4 separate regions of the Homo sapiens genome follow, and all the other regions are linked to region 1. Evidence: promoter capture Hi-C in 16 types of primary human blood cells and fetal thymus (Javierre and others, 2016). All regions are on one chromosome and are shown on one strand. Each heading gives the region's core, a stretch centred on a gene start or on the middle of the fragment in contact. The rest is flanking DNA. Distances are from core to core; before and after follow the strand shown.

What was found. The method cuts DNA at HindIII sites, captures the fragments that hold promoters and counts their contacts. A CHiCAGO score of 5 or more calls a contact.
Region 2: a fragment that was not itself captured here is called in contact with the fragment with the promoter of ARL8B in region 1 in 1 of 17 cell types (activated CD4 T cells); the score reaches 6.6 in activated CD4 T cells.
Region 3: a contact is called between a fragment that was not itself captured here and the fragment with the promoter of ARL8B in region 1, in 1 of 17 cell types (activated CD4 T cells). The highest score is 5.2, in activated CD4 T cells.
Region 4: a contact is called between a fragment that was not itself captured here and the fragment with the promoter of ARL8B in region 1, in 1 of 17 cell types (M2 macrophages). The highest score is 5.9, in M2 macrophages.

The regions. Positions count from the first base shown.
Region 1 is chr3:5,120,388-5,124,014 of GRCh38, reverse strand. It overlaps ARL8B (ARF like GTPase 8B), which reads right to left and starts at 1,723. Exons shown (of 7, transcript NM_018184.3): 1 at 1,427-1,723. The coding sequence starts at 1,549. It overlaps LOC124906212 (a long non-coding RNA gene), which reads right to left and starts at 956. Exons shown (of 2, transcript XR_007095800.1): 1 at 299-956. RefSeq lists a silencer at 1,658-1,917. The HindIII fragment of the contact is 19,308 bases long and covers 1-3,627 here.
Region 2 is chr3:4,670,387-4,674,302 of GRCh38, reverse strand. It overlaps ITPR1 (inositol 1,4,5-trisphosphate receptor type 1), which reads right to left. Exons shown (of 62, transcript NM_001378452.1): 20 at 3,377-3,574; 21 at 916-1,167; 22 at 1-101. Among named protein-coding and RNA genes, the nearest start is that of EGOT, 79 kb to the left of the region's middle. The HindIII fragment of the contact is 1,227 bases long and covers 805-2,031 here.
Region 3 is chr3:4,690,733-4,694,509 of GRCh38, reverse strand. ITPR1 (inositol 1,4,5-trisphosphate receptor type 1) reads right to left here. Exons shown (of 62, transcript NM_001378452.1): 32 at 3,166-3,366; 33 at 769-1,020. Among named protein-coding and RNA genes, the nearest start is that of EGOT, 59 kb to the left of the region's middle. The HindIII fragment of the contact is 2,229 bases long and covers 1,310-3,538 here.
Region 4 is chr3:4,643,177-4,647,014 of GRCh38, reverse strand. ITPR1 (inositol 1,4,5-trisphosphate receptor type 1) reads right to left here. Exons shown (of 62, transcript NM_001378452.1): 8 at 2,781-2,879; 9 at 1,545-1,628; 10 at 1,287-1,433. Among named protein-coding and RNA genes, the nearest start is that of EGOT, 110 kb to the left of the region's middle. The HindIII fragment of the contact is 4,067 bases long and covers 1-3,736 here.

The sequences.
Region 1 (3,627 bases), core at 474-2,973:
GTAATCCCAGCTACGCAGGAGGTGGAGGCAGGAAAATCGCTTGAACCTGGGAGGTGGAGGTTGCAGTGAGCTGAGATCTCGCCACTGCACTCCAGCCTGGGGGACAAAGCGAGACTCCGTCTCAAGAAAAAAAATTAATAATAATACTACTAGAAAAGGAGCCGAACAACAAGCAGGTAAATCTTCCTTATATACATCATTCTTCAAAGGACTTTGGGGTTTCTGCTAATCTCTTTTTCTCCAAGACTTACTCATTCCTGTTGCTTTATTAGTGCAAGGACTAAGAATCACAAGTTACCTATTTTCTCAAACATGAAAGCTGTGTTTGAATCATCTTGTGTAACCTAACCAGTCGGACAGCTAATCTTCAGGATTTCAACAGTCATCGAAAAGGTGGAAGAACTGCTGCCATCTCTCTTCAGAACAGTTCTAAAACTCCCCTGGCGTGTACAAGCCACTACCAGCTAAAACTGAGTCACAACAACTCTTGGGCTCTAAATAAAGATCGAGGCGAAATCTTTCACTCCTATTTATTTCCCAACCAACCAAACAAGCAAAACGAAACAATCACCTTTCTACTCAATCATTGCTGAACAAACACCACATTCTATGTAAGTCCTCAGTGCAATTTTCCTTCCACCCATTCCCTAGGCCTGCTAAGCTATGTTCCTGCCCAGTACCTTCTTTTCTCTTCAAGTGAAAAACACCATTTAAAGACCAACTCCTCTTTCGCAGGGTAGTTAACTTTATGCTAACTGCAGATCCATCTTATCTAGTCGCTTAAGACAATTAACTCTTAGCTTAATAAATACTATGTATTGTGGGCTAGCTGGAGCTCAGCAATGAGCTTGGTCTCCGCGCCTGGGGGACGGGTGAAAACAAGTAACTGAATTAGATGGGACCAGCGGCCCACAGAATTCAGGAAGGCGCTCACACTGGTCTCCCGCTTTCACAATGGGTCTATTGGTCCAAAGTGGCAACTTAAGAGAGGCTCTTAATGCTTACGCTTTCTCGTACGGCTGACGGATTTGCCAAATCCCACCCTTTGGGAAAGTGACAGACTGGACTTAACTCTTTGGCTGCCCCTACTGGGCAAACCCAAGGGAAACCCCAATCCCCAAGCGCTTTAAAAATGTGACGAGTTCAATTTAACTCTTTCCGAGCCCCCGCGGCGTTGAGGACACAGCCCTTGGAAAATGTCTACACTGACTTAACCCTTCCGCTGCCGATCTCAGTGCTACTCCCCGCGCCGCCAACACGCGGGAAATTCCAAATGCTGGCCCTCGGGAGATGACAGGCCCAGCTTCGCACGCCCCCCGCCATCAGTCCCATCGCGCCGAGGGGGGCCCCAACTCAGGCCTTGGAGAAGCGCCGGGCCGGACTCCTGGCTGCGGAGCCCCGGGCGAGTGAGTGGGCGGGCGCTCACCGCGATGACATTGACGAAGGTGGTCTTGCCCGAGTACTGCAGCCCCACGAGCGTCAGCTCCATCTCTTCCTTCCAGAAGAGCGAACGGAACCAGTCCAGCAGGCGGGAGATGAGCGCCAGCATGATGGCGGCCGGGAGCGAGAACGGACGGGAGGACGGACGAGCGGCGGCGTCGACGACTTCCACACGAGCGGGCCTCCGCCCGGACCCTCCAACGGCTCCTTGGTGCCCCGGCGCGACACGGGCGGACACCGGCGGGCGGCAGCAGCCAGACCCAGGAAGCCGAGCGGATCATATGACTCGCCCTACCCCCCACGCCCGTCCCGGCGCCGCCGTCGGCACCCACGGCAAGAGCGGCGCGGCCAATCCGGCCAGGCCCGCCCGCCGCTGGCATCGCCACCTGGTGGGCATGCTCCGCAGCACAGCGTACCCTCGGGCCCCCTTGAGGCTTTCTCTACATTCATTCATTGTTGGTTCATTCGTCATTCATCCACTTATACATTCGTTAATTCATTCATTCATTTTTTGCTATAATTGTTCATTAACAATCTGCAGGAAGACTTCAAGACTCTGGAAGAGTTGGCGTGGAATAAAAATTCCTGTCCTACATTTTTGGTAGTAGCAAAAGATAGTGTTAACTTAAAAATGACACCGTTTATAAATTTAGAAAGGAGAGCATTATTTCTTAAGAAGGGGATTATAAGCTGTAGGCAGGACGTGCAGCCTCGGGCCAAAAAAAACAAAAGTAAGCACTTTGAGAGAGGGAAGGGTGCAACAAGAATTTATATTGAGGAGTTGGCCAAGTAAACATATTTAACTTATGGAAGGAGCTATTAATATGTATGAAGGTGGTCTTACACACATAGTGAACAAATCTGTATGTTGCATATGACCTATGTTCATTTGGGGTGGCGACTTAACATTTAAATGTATTATAATCAGGCAGGGCGCGGTGGCTCATGCCTGTAATCCCAGCACTTTGGGAGGCAAAGGTGGGCAGATCACCTGAGGTCAGGAGTTTGAGACCAGCCTGACCAACATGGTGAAGCCCCATCTCTACTAAAAATACAAAATTAGCCGAACGTGGTGGCATGCACCTGTAGCCTCAGCTGCTTGGGAAGCCGAGGTGGGAGAATTGTGTGAACCCAGGAGGCGAAGGTTGCAGTGAGCTGAGATCATGCCACTGCACTTCAGCCTGGGTGATAGAGTGAGACCCTCGTCTCAAAAAACAACAATTAAAAAATAAATAAAGTAAAAGTATTATAATCAGGCCCTCCACATCAGAAAGTGAATCAGGGACGGGAAAGGTATTGAAGTGCTTGGCCTCTGTAAAACCAGCCAGAACTGGGCTGGGCGCGGTGGCTCACAGCCTGTAATCCAAACACTTTGAGAGGCTGAGGCAGGTGGATCAGGAGGTCAGGAGTTTGAGACCAGCCTGGCCAACAAGGTGAAACCCCGTCTCTACTAAAGATACAAAAAATTAGCCCAGGCCGGGTGCAGTGGCTCATGCCTGTAATCCCAGCACTTTGGGAGGTCAAGGCGGGCAGATCACCTCAGGTTGGGAGTTCAAGACCAGCCCGACCAACATGGTGAAACCCCGTCTCTACTAAAAATACAAAAATTAGCGGGACATGGTGGCACGCGCCTGTAATCCCAGCTATGCTGGAGGCTGAGGCAGGAGAATCGCTTGACTCCGGGAGGCAGAGGTTGCAGTGACCGAGGTCATGCCACTGCACGCCAGCCTGGGTGACAGAGCGAGACTTCATCTCAAAAAAAAAAAAAAGAAAGAAAGAAAAGAAAAAGCCAGCCAGAACCAATGCATGGATGCATGGTTAGTTGTCTCTTAACAGGAGAAAGTTACAGAAATCAGTCTCTTGTCTAATCAAAGCCATAGTTAGGCTTGTGGAACAGGTCAGTTAGCCTGCATCTGGCAGAGAGTTGTAACTGTTTTAATTGTGTTTATCTCCAGGCCAGTGCTGGTTTAGCTGGTAGAGAAAAAGAGAAACCTTGCACTTAGTCATTTAACTCTTGCCTAGTATGGCCTTAGGTCCTGTTTATAATTTGGTATCTAATTGTCACAAAGAGTCTGTTCTGTCAGTCTTGTGATCTCTATTTTAACGTTAATGTTGGTCGTTTGTTGTTTCTTTCTTTTTTTTTTTTTTTTTTTTGAGACGGAGTCTCGCTCTGTCGCCCAGGCTGGA
Region 2 (3,916 bases), core at 169-2,668, 450 kb after region 1:
ACCTCTGACAAACCACATCTCTTAAATACTCCTCCACAAACTCCATGGTCTGAGCAAATCTCTCCTTAATTTCATCTTTGGAAGCTCCACTACTATCATAGCTGAAAAGAAAGGAGAAAGAAAGGAAACAAAATTTCAAGTTATTCCCAGAGAGGTCTTCCTGGGTCACTCAGCTTCAAAAGTCAACATCCCCTAACCCTTGGCATCCCTTGACCCTACTTTATTTTTTCCCTCCTTAGCATATATCACCAACTATATATTTGAGTCGTTTATCTTGCCTATTGTCTGTCTTCCACCAACTAGCATAGAGATTGCTTTCTAGTTTGTTCACTGATATATTTCTTGAGCTTGGCACATAGTACACACTTAAATATTTGCAGAATGAAAGAGGAGATAAATGAGATATAAAAAATACAATCGGGGCCAGGCGCGGTGGCTCACGCCTGTAATCCCAGCACTTTGGGAGGCCGAGGTGGACGGCTCACAAGGTCAGGAGATCGAGACCGTCCTAGCTAACACGGTGAAACCCCGTCCCTACTAAAAATACAAAAAATTAGCCGGGCGTGGTGGTGGGCGTCTGTAGTCCCAGCTACTTGGGAGGCTGAGGAAGGAGAATGGCACGAACCCGGGAGGCAGAGCTTGTAGTGAGCCGAGATTGCGCCACTGCAGTTCAGCCTGGGCAACAGAGTGAGACTCCATCTCAAACAAACAAACAAACAAACAAAAACCAAAAACATAATCATGCCATCTTTCACATTCTTGAGGAAAAAAATATTTGCCATCCACTTAATTTTATTTTAAGCTTGAAGAAAAAACCAACACTTCATCTTTCTTCTAAGATTTAATGAGACCATATGGGGCTATCTACTGCCGCACAGAATAATGTAAAGTGAGGTTTTCAGGTGCCAGGCTCACTCGTCAATGGCGATCTCCGAGGGAATCTCCGACCAGAGGCGGGCATATTTCACGGGGGTGACTTGTTCCTGGGGATCTCGGTCCACATGCATGTGAAGCATGAGGCGGCAGAAGGACGCCCTGAGGTCATAGGGCAGGTTCTCGTCAGACATGCAGCGGAGAATGAGATCGACATCCAGCTGGCCTGAGATTTCGTTGATGGCCAGGTATTGGCGGTCCAGACACATCCTCGCAAAGAGGTTCAGCTGATATCTAGAGGAAGGAACAAGGGCACACAGCTCACGCTCCAGAAATCATTCAGGATGAATGAAGGGTCGTCTGGGCAGCCCTGACTGTCATGGGAGTGACATTTGGCCAACTAAACTCATACATCAACACCCCTAAATTGCTCTTGTATACCAGGATTTTGGCTTTGGTACCAAGCAGATAAAAGAACTATTCAAGCTGTGCAGTAGAGTGTGGGTTGACAGCCAACAGGAACACATGTCTATCCAGCTGTGTTGGAGCAATTATGTGACGACCTAATTCCACTAGGTCCTTAATGTTTACTTTTTAAAATAAACGGGGGGAATGCTAAGGCCTAAGATGGTTGTCTATTTCTTTCCCTTCAGCTGTGTTTTATACAGTAAAGACCATGTAGGAAATGTTCAAGATATCACACATATTCAGCCTAATTAGAAATTTTATAACATTTTAAAGATCTTATATCATGTAAGTCACTCTAATTCCTACACGTGTAAAAAAACATTTCATTTACAAAAGTAGGAGACTCCTCACTTTTCATCTTCATCCAATTGCAAGTGAATGTTGTTAACTGGAACCTGACCAATTAAGGCACTCTTTCTCATTCACTTGGGAGAAGATTCATCAAACACTGAAAGAGTAAACATACTTGAAATGTGAAATAACGAGAAAGCCACAGGCTTTCAAAATACTGCCTTCTGAATTAAAAACTCTATGTATTTCTAATAATCATGATTTGAAGACATTCTCAGCCTCATTAGATGTCGGGGAAATGCAAGTGTAGACATGAGTCTATTTCACACTTATAAAATTACCAAAAATTAAAAAGCATCATGATATTCAAGGTTAACAAAGACATGAAGAAACAAAGCTTGTCGTCTACAACTGGTGGGTGTGTACACTGACACATCCAATTTAGAATTGCTTAGTAAAGCTTAAAATATGAATATCCTCCAAGCCCACCTCCCAGTGTGGAATGGAAATTCATACATATACTCAGAAAAATTTGAATGAAGATGTTTCCTGACATGAAGAACTGCAGCATGTGATCAAATATCAAACAGCGATGAAAATGTGATAAATCAATAAAACAGAATATCATCCAACAGTCCAAATTACAGAAATGGATTAATCTCTATTAACGCAGATATATTCAATATGGCTTCAGTACCCGTATTGAATAAATAAGGCAAGTTTTAGAATGGTATTTGGAGTACAGTCCCATTTATATAAAATTTTAAGTAGAGATAAAATACTACATATGATTTACAGATGCATACAAATGCAGCACACAGAGAATGTGGATAGGATGCGTACATCACACATGAATGAAAGAACAGAATACAGGAGGCAAGAAAAGGCATTTTATCTGCAGTTTTATTTATTTTATTAAAAAATAATAAAAGCCTTGCTTTATCTTCCCTTTCCTTTTCTTTTAAAAGTATTAATTGGTTCACTTCCTTTCTTTCTTCCCCTTCCCTTCCCTTCAGGTGGCAGGACTGGCAGGTCTTACAGCTGGAGCCAAGGAGACACTGGGGACCGTGGAGGTGGGTGGCAGAGGTGAGACAGGTACACACAGGGAAACGGGCAGATGGGTAAACATACAGGGAATCGTGGCAGCTGGAGGGAGTCATGAAATGGAAAAGGTGAAGGCTAGAATAAATCCTATGGTGTTGGAATGGAATTGGAAGTATTAGTGTAAGTACATGCTTTTTATTATATATTTGTGTAGTTATAGAAAGATACATGGATGAATGTGTAGATATATGTGTATACAAACACACACATCTTCTGTCTCTGTCTATAAACATTTGGTGAGATTGGCACTATCACCTTCATTTTGCAGATAAAGAAATTAGAGCATAAAATCAAACTTGGCCAATGTCAAAAAACTGGTAAGCGGAGAGGTAGGGATGTGACCCCACAGCCTGCCTCTTACGTACCTACCACCATATCTATGGGCCATGCTGCTGAAGGATAAACTATCACCAGGGACTGAGGCAAGCACTCATCCTTTTTGGGAACCAGCCACATCCAGATGTCAACTAACTGAAATCTTACACTCCAAACTCCTAAAACACACATCTGGCTTTTTTCTAGACAATCTTACAAGATGACTCCTTGTGATTCCTTGAAGTAATCAACAAACGAGCAACAAATTCCTAAGTGCCACTGTTTTGGGGCACCCCAATCTGAGCCCCACACGTGTCCCACGCACCTGTAGTAGCTGAGAACGTCTCGGTCCTCCTTCTGCCCTTCTTTAGCATCCTGAGCCAATTCCCTCACACTCTTGCTGCGAATCTCTTTGTTGCTGTCCCTCCAAAACAGCCACACCTCTTCCTCGTCTTCTCCTGCCTCCAGAGCATTCTCTCCAGTGGAAGAGACACCTTCAAATTCAAAACGAGAAAGAACCAACCTAGAAAACAAGAGGAGGAGGGAAAAGTTACTATTTTTAAAAATACTTTGAGATCTAGCTTTACTTTCAGCATAAAGACACATGGAAAGACACTTTTTGTTTTGTATTTCCCCCAAGGGCAGAGCCGCAGAGAGCCTGACATTAACATCTTCATATACTGTAACCCAGTGGTTCTCGACTATGGTGCTGCTGCCCCCAGTGGACACCAGGCAATGTCTCTGGACAGGTTTTTGGTTGTCACAACCGAAATGGAGAGGTGCTACTGGCATCTAAGTGGGTAGGGGCCAGGGATGCTGCTGAACATTTTACAGTGCCTAGCACAGCCCCACAACAAAGAATTAC
Region 3 (3,777 bases), core at 1,175-3,674, 430 kb after region 1:
CTCAAAAGATATCCCCACCACTAAGCGACACATGACTGTTTTTAGCTTTTCAAAATAACCTAAAAACATTATATGATATATGTCATATATTTTAATGTAATATAAATGTGTACTACAAACTAATATTACACATTGTAAAACCTACAATACATACTTTATAATATACTTTATATATCATAAATATATACTTTATAATATACTTTATATATCATAAATATATACTTTATAATCCAGTTTTTCATTACTAATCAATATAATCTATGAGTAGGAAAAAAGGAAGCCTGGAAGGATTAACTTCAAAACTTAGGTATTCATTATTTTTTTTTTTAATTGATTGTCTGTAGTTCCTAAATTTTTTATAATGGCCATTATTTCTGTAATAAGGGTTTTTGTTTTAAAGAATTAACTTACTAAGTCTTACATTCATATGGACTAGATCTCAACCTACTCTTCGTCACATTTCTGAAAAGTTCATTCAGGTCATATCCCCTTTGCTCAACAGGCTAAATTAGTCCACAGAGCTGAAGCTTTTTTCCTCACTGTTCTTAAAGATACAGAAAGAACGACTAACTTCTTCCGTGTTCCTTTCATGCAAAATCAATGCTCGAGAAAATGTTTTAGGGAACTGAAATCCCACTACAAAATGAGCTGCAGCTTTCAGAGCCATGAGGGCTCCCCCAGGCCAGCCACCACCATGTCTCCCAGTGAGCCACGACAGCACACACCACATAGCAACGAGAAGGGCACAGCCAGGCTGGGCTCGCTCACCTCAGGGATGCAGTCCTCGTGGGTCACCACGCGAACGATGTCATCCAGCGGGAGCAGGGAGTTGCACTTGATCTCTGTGTAGACATTCTTACCCTCCGTGCACACAGCCAGGAGCTCGACCAAGTGGATGTGGTACATGAGAGGGCTGTTCTCATCCATCCGATCCCGTTCTGACCGCATCATCTGGATCAGAGTCTGGAAAGAGGCTCTGTCGTTGTAGAACACGAGGACATCCTCTCCCGAATTGACCAGCTACATAAAGAACAGGGTGGGTTTAGATTACAAGCTTGCAGGGGTGGGGCAGCATGAAAAAAATCTATTCACAGAGGAAGAGAGAGGTTCTGTTAGCATTTATCTTCCCAAATCAGTCTTACCTATTTTGACTTCATTCATTTATATAACTGAACAACTAGAAATCTTCAGCATCATAATTTTAGTCCACAGATACAGAAATACCACACTGGCCCTAGAAAGCTATTAGGGGAAGAGAAAGCCTGCATACCAGCATTAATGCATCAAGTGGAAACAGAGATTGCAAGCTTGCACTGGTATTTCCATACCTACCAATTAGGCTATGATATTTCTTTTTAAATGTTTCCATCTTATTTATTTTTTTTGAGATGGAATTTCACTCTTGTTGCCCAGGCTGGAGTGCAATGCCGTGATCTCGGCTCACCACAACCTCCGCCTCCCAGGTTGGTTCAAGCGATTCTCCTGCCTCAGCCTCCTGAGTAGCTGGGATTACAGGGATGCACCACCATGCCTGGCTAATTTTGTATTTTTAGTAGAGACGGGGTTTCCCCATGTTGGCTAGGCTGGTCTCGAACTCTCAACCTCAGATGATCCACCCAACTCGGCCTCCCAAAGTGCTGGGATTATAGGTGTGAGCCAATGTGCCCTGCCTCCATCTTATTTTTATGCTTTACAATGTATCCCCTTTACAATTCTTTCATCTACCATCTTATCTCTTCAATCAACAAATTACTTTTAATTAAGATATGCCTTCCTCTCCATACTTACTCTTCAAAAAGTTGAGGCATTCCTGTTTATAACTTGTCCCCTAAGATGAGGCTTCTTGCAAATTTATTTAAGAATAAATCGATTTCATCAGCAGTACATGAAGTACAAAAAACCCAGAAAGGGCTGGCACAGAAGTCAAAATAAACATGGTCAATACTTACTAATGACTAACCTTTATGAGCTCTAATGATTAGATGCCAGATACCAAGATAAACTCTTTAGACAAACTTCCTAACCTCATTGTATCTCAGTTTCTTCATCTGTGAAACCAGGACAAATACAATAGCTAACTCACAGTGCTATGTAGATTAAATAATTTATTATAGACAAACTGCTTAGGACTGTGCCTAGAGTATGACCGGCTTCCAAAAAGTGTTAGGCATTAATGTCACCATTATCTCATTTACCCCACATATCAACTCTTTAAAGTGAAATCTGCGTATCTTCATGTTATAGAAAAGCTCACTGAGGAGTTGAAAGGTCAAGTAATGTATCTCATGGCACCCTTCAGTGAAGGGGTTCAGGTGACATTTGTATCCCAGGTTGAGCCGACTCTCTCTTTTTTTTATTTTTTTTCTAAGAGACAACGTCTCACTCTGTTGCCCAGGCTGGAGTGCAGTGGGTGCCATCATAGCTCACTGCAAGGTCAAAATCCTGGGCTCAAGGGATCTTCCTCTGTAACTGGGATTATGGGCACATGCCACTACACCCAGCTAATTTTTAAAATTTTTTGTAGAAACAAGGGTCTTACTATGTTGCCCAGGCTGGTCCTGTACTCCTGGCCTCAAGTGATGCTCCTGCCTCAGCCTCCCAAAGAGCTGGGATTACAGGCATGAGCCACCACGTTGGCCTCAACTCTTAATCACACTACCCTCCCTGCCAATGGAACCATATACGTAGACAAGATTGTAAATCAAAGTGAATTCATAATAAACCAAGTAAGGCTTTTCCTTGATTCCACAGACCAACTGCTCCTCAAAAAGCATCAGGCAAAATTTTTTCCATCTAATTAATTAGGTGAATAATTTTTAAAATTCATAATCCACAAGAATGGAAGCGTTCTGGCTCACTGGGTCCTGACTACATTTTATCTCCATTCCCTATAATTCAGTTCCTTATTCCTCTTTCTGTCCCCTGTCAGAAAAATCCAAGCCATCCTTCCTTAAATTGGTTGCTATGAAATATCAGATCAGATTCTTGCCTATATCTACAACTTAAGCTCACACAAGAGATGACACAGACATATGCACACACAATTACTTTCTGTCCTTCTGTATGGCTCCTGAAGAGGGTGCAAGTTCATACAGATAAGATTAAATAATTTTAAAATTTCTACAGAACACCAGATGGAGGTATACAGAAATATATAACAATCACCTCGGCCATAACCATGTCTTGGCATTTTTTAATAAATTTCCCTTCTGCCTTGACAATTGTCTGTAAGAACTTTATATACTGGACATTCCGACCGTGAGTCTCTATGCAGTGAACGAAGTGCTGAACAACTCTCTCGTTGATCTCACTGCAAAGCTGGAAATTGTTCATGAAGATGTGCTGCATGGTTACTGCCTCCAGGATCTGGCACAAGAGTGAGGAAAAGAGCACAGGGACAAGTCAAAAAGCTGACAGAACAGATTAAAAAGTGAGAAAAAGAAGAGTCCACTGAAACACACACAAGGGAAGCATTTAAACCCATGAAGATATGTTTCTCTCATTCTTGCTTCTGTACTACCTTCTTTTTTAGTAAGCTTTTTTCATTGACATATAAATAAACATACAGAAAAGTAAACAACTCATTAGCATTCAGCTGAATAGATTATAAAGGGACCTTGAACACCCAGATCAAGAAACAAAACAGGTCTCCTTTATGCCTTATCTCACAATTTAACTACTATTTTGACTTATATAACCAGATTAGTTTTGCCTGTTCTTAAACCTCTTGCACTCTTTTTCACTGATATGTAAGTTCCATTGCATGAATATATGACA
Region 4 (3,838 bases), core at 454-2,953, 480 kb after region 1:
GGTGCTGGTTACATGGCTGAACGTATACGTAAAAATTCATTGAGTTGTATACTCTTGACTTGGGCACTTTACTATACTATACATAGGCTAGACCTCAGTAGCAACATGAAACAATTGAAGCTAGGGAGGAGGAAAAGAGAACGCAAGCAGAGACAGAAAAATTTATCTATTCAAATTAGAAATTTGAATTAGAATTCTAATTCATGCTGCAATTACACAGAAAGGAAGGCTTGAGGTGAAGAAAGAGCTCCATGTTAGTTGAAGCTCTCATTGCCTCTTTCACCAAGCATTCAGAACATTTCCTTCTTTGTCCTGCAATTCTAGACTCTCCTTACAACAAATTACATGCTGTGGGCAGAATCTTCTAGCTTCTTTAAGTTGCACACTGATTATGTTATTCCCTTCCTCAAACAACTTTCCAAATTTCTCCCCTGCCCATAAATTAAATCCCAACTCCCTATAGCCTGGATATATGGCCCTTCAGCCTCTGGTCTCCAAAAACAGTTCTGTTTAATTTCCCATGCCTATCCCGTGCCCTTCACCAAACAAGTTACTGAGTTTTATCCCACGCTGCTTCACGTTTCCACATTCTGCACCATTCTCTTACATGAAGTAACCTACTCCATTCATCTCTTCCTTCTGAAATACAAATCATCCTGCAGGTACCAGATCAGATGCTATCTCCTTCAGGAAGTCTTCCTTAATTCTTCACCCACCCAGACATTCACCCTCTCTCACTGAAACCTCCAGAGCATGTGGAATATGCCTCTTACCACCTTCACCATCCCCTTGTGTGTTCCAGTTATCTGGGTGTATATCTTCTCATTTCTGCCCCATCACCAATGTGGGCATCACCTATGTATTGTGTCAGGTAGACACCTGGTTAAATATTGTTGTGATAGATAAATGAGCAAGGGAAAGAAAACAATAGAAGGGATTAGATGGCTCAGAGAAAGCTATTTCTAATTTCGTTTTTGAATTTGTTTCCAAAGTACTTATTCTTTCCTTCTGCACAAATATGCAGCACCATGATATGCCATGATGCACTTACTTCACTATGCCATCCCCAACCCATTTTTGGAATAAGGTGGGTATAAGTACTTGTTTGTGACTTATATATATACACACACATGTATTCTGTGTGTGTGTGTAGGTGTGTGTATGTGGGTGTATAGACACATATAGGTATATGTATGTATGAATATTTGTAGGATAGAGAGAGAGAGAGCCTATATACAGGCTGATATCCTCTAAACCCAGGAGCCCTTTCTCCACCCTACCCTTACCTCCACCTCCCACAGGGCTTTTGAACTGGTGGCAGATGTGGCCGACTGCCGGCCCGTGGTTCTCAGGAAGACGTGCTGCTTCTTCCTGTGTTCGTCACAGGTGAGAAACTTCTCCTGCTCAGCATGAAACAGCCTCACCACGTCACCCTGACAGTCAACACAAGAAAGAATTAAGGAAAAAAGAATTTAAAAAGAGAATTAGACTGCTGCCCCCAAGAAGAGCCAAGTAATGCTCAGCCCATAAAGCATCAAACTCACCCCCTTTAATATGTCGTCTTTGTTATCACTCCATTTCATGAAAAGGACTATTTTCCAGCTTGTATTGCAGTTGACGGAATTGACCTGAAACACAGATTCGAGTTATTTTTTCACGTACCCCTCACAACAACTGTGTCATCCAGCCCCCAGACTTCTCACCGCAGCCTAGGAAGCAAGGCTGTACTTGAGACTAAAAACTCTAAAGATTGACGCCACTAAAATCACAGCACCTGCAAAATCAACTGGCCTGCTGGCAGAGTTTGGAAATAAATGGTTCATTTGCACCAATCACTATGCACATTCCAACCATGACTAATGGAACCAAGCCTCCTGCCTTTCTGGAATGATATTTTCATTTTCCTCCAAGTCTCTTGTTCTGTAGCCAGAAAGTAAAGGCCTGATGAAAATAAGTACTTATAAAATGGGATGAGCCATAAAGGGAAAAAAAATGAGTCCAGTGTATACACTCGAAAATGTTAATGATCATTGTTAACAACAGCAGCCATTGTTTGTGCACTAAATCTGTGCCAGGCACTAGGTTTAGGTGCTAACACGCACAATCTCCTTTAATTCTTGGCAACACCCTGAAAAATAGGTCCGACCGCCGCCCCCATTTCAGAGATAAGGAAACTGATATGCAGGGAGACCGGGTAACCAACCTGCCGTCACAGAGCTTGGAAAGGCAGACAGGATGTGAACCCACATCTATCCCACTGAAGAGTTTATGTCTTTACCCATCAGACAAATATTTATGTCACAAGGAAGTAACATCCTTGCATCCTATAATTGCTAATTTAGAGGAGAAGTAGATGTATTGCCAAAAGCAAGCTATCACTCTTGCAGGGCTGCTGATAAGCTGCAGTGTTCCTTTTTGAACAGTTAAAAAGAGGCACCCTGTATATGGAGACAAATTAGAAAAAGGTGCTCCTATGGCCAGAAAAAAATTAGTAAAAGGGTTCATCTCTGGCTTCACCAATGAAAAAACAACCCCTCAGTGACGCAAGGCTTCACAAACTGAGCACTAGAGTGAGTATCAGCCCACATCTACTACCCACTGCACACAGTTGCACAACCTTACACGGCAGCCTTGACCCTGGGCCTGTTTCTTCACCTGCAGAATGGGCACCCTGCCCCAAGTCACTGCTGAAGTCACTCTCAGCACACGCATGCACTGGCGCCTGCCAGACCCGCTCCTGCAGGATAACCACACCCACACACATAACTCAATGTCCTTACCTCATTGCAGCCTGGGTTATCTACCAGTTGATGGCTGCTAGCATGTAGGGGCTGACCAGCATTGACGGGGTTCAGAACCACCTTGTCACCTATGACCACCTGGAATGGAAAGGAGCAATAGAGCTTTGCACAAAACTGATAAGGACTGCGGATTGACCACTGGGCAGTTCTAGAAGACATATGAGTCTGTGCTGAAGAAGGCAAGGCCTATCCCCAGCAAGTATAAAGATGTAGCACACACCACGCCTTCTTTAAAACCTGACCCTGTGCAGAGGGGGTCATGTTTACAAGGCTAAGCCTGAATGTTGTTCCTCGAGTGTCACTGATTATACAGAGATGTTTCAAAGCCAGTTCAGAGCAGGAAAAAAAAAAAAAACTGTTCAGTTTAAGGTACCTATATAAGTAAGTTTTAACTAAATTTAAGAAAAAACAAGATAGAGTCAGAGTAAGTCTTTATCTTTGACAAAGCCATAACTTTATGTTTCTAAAACAATTACTTTCATATTTTTACTATAACATTCGGAAATACATGGTCTATGATCAAGTCATATATACAGCCATTGAGACTTATACGCATGTTTCTATAATTATAATACTATATATATATGTAACTAAAACAAAAGTTACCCCCCCCCCAAAAAAACAATACTTATCATTATGTGATGTAACACAGTCTGATCTTTCTGTTCTATCCCACTTTCAAAAAGGATAGTCACAAGCCACTAAACTGATTTCATGGCCCACAAATGGGTCTACACCTATTCTTTGTAAAATATTATTTTAAATTCAAGTCCATCTCATCTTCTCAACTAAGCCATGGCCACACACAGATTCGTTTAAAGGATAGGAAACCAAAGGATGTGCTGAAAATGAAATTCAGAACAAGGCACACTTGTCTTTTATTTTTGGTTAGAAAAGATGGTTTCCTAACATGAAAAACCATCTATTTTCAAGCTTATCACATTTGAGGAGCATATACAATTGAATTTTCTCTAACTCCAAATGAATATAAGTTCATTCAATAAATCCAACACTTTTGGTGAAACCTAAGTTTTACT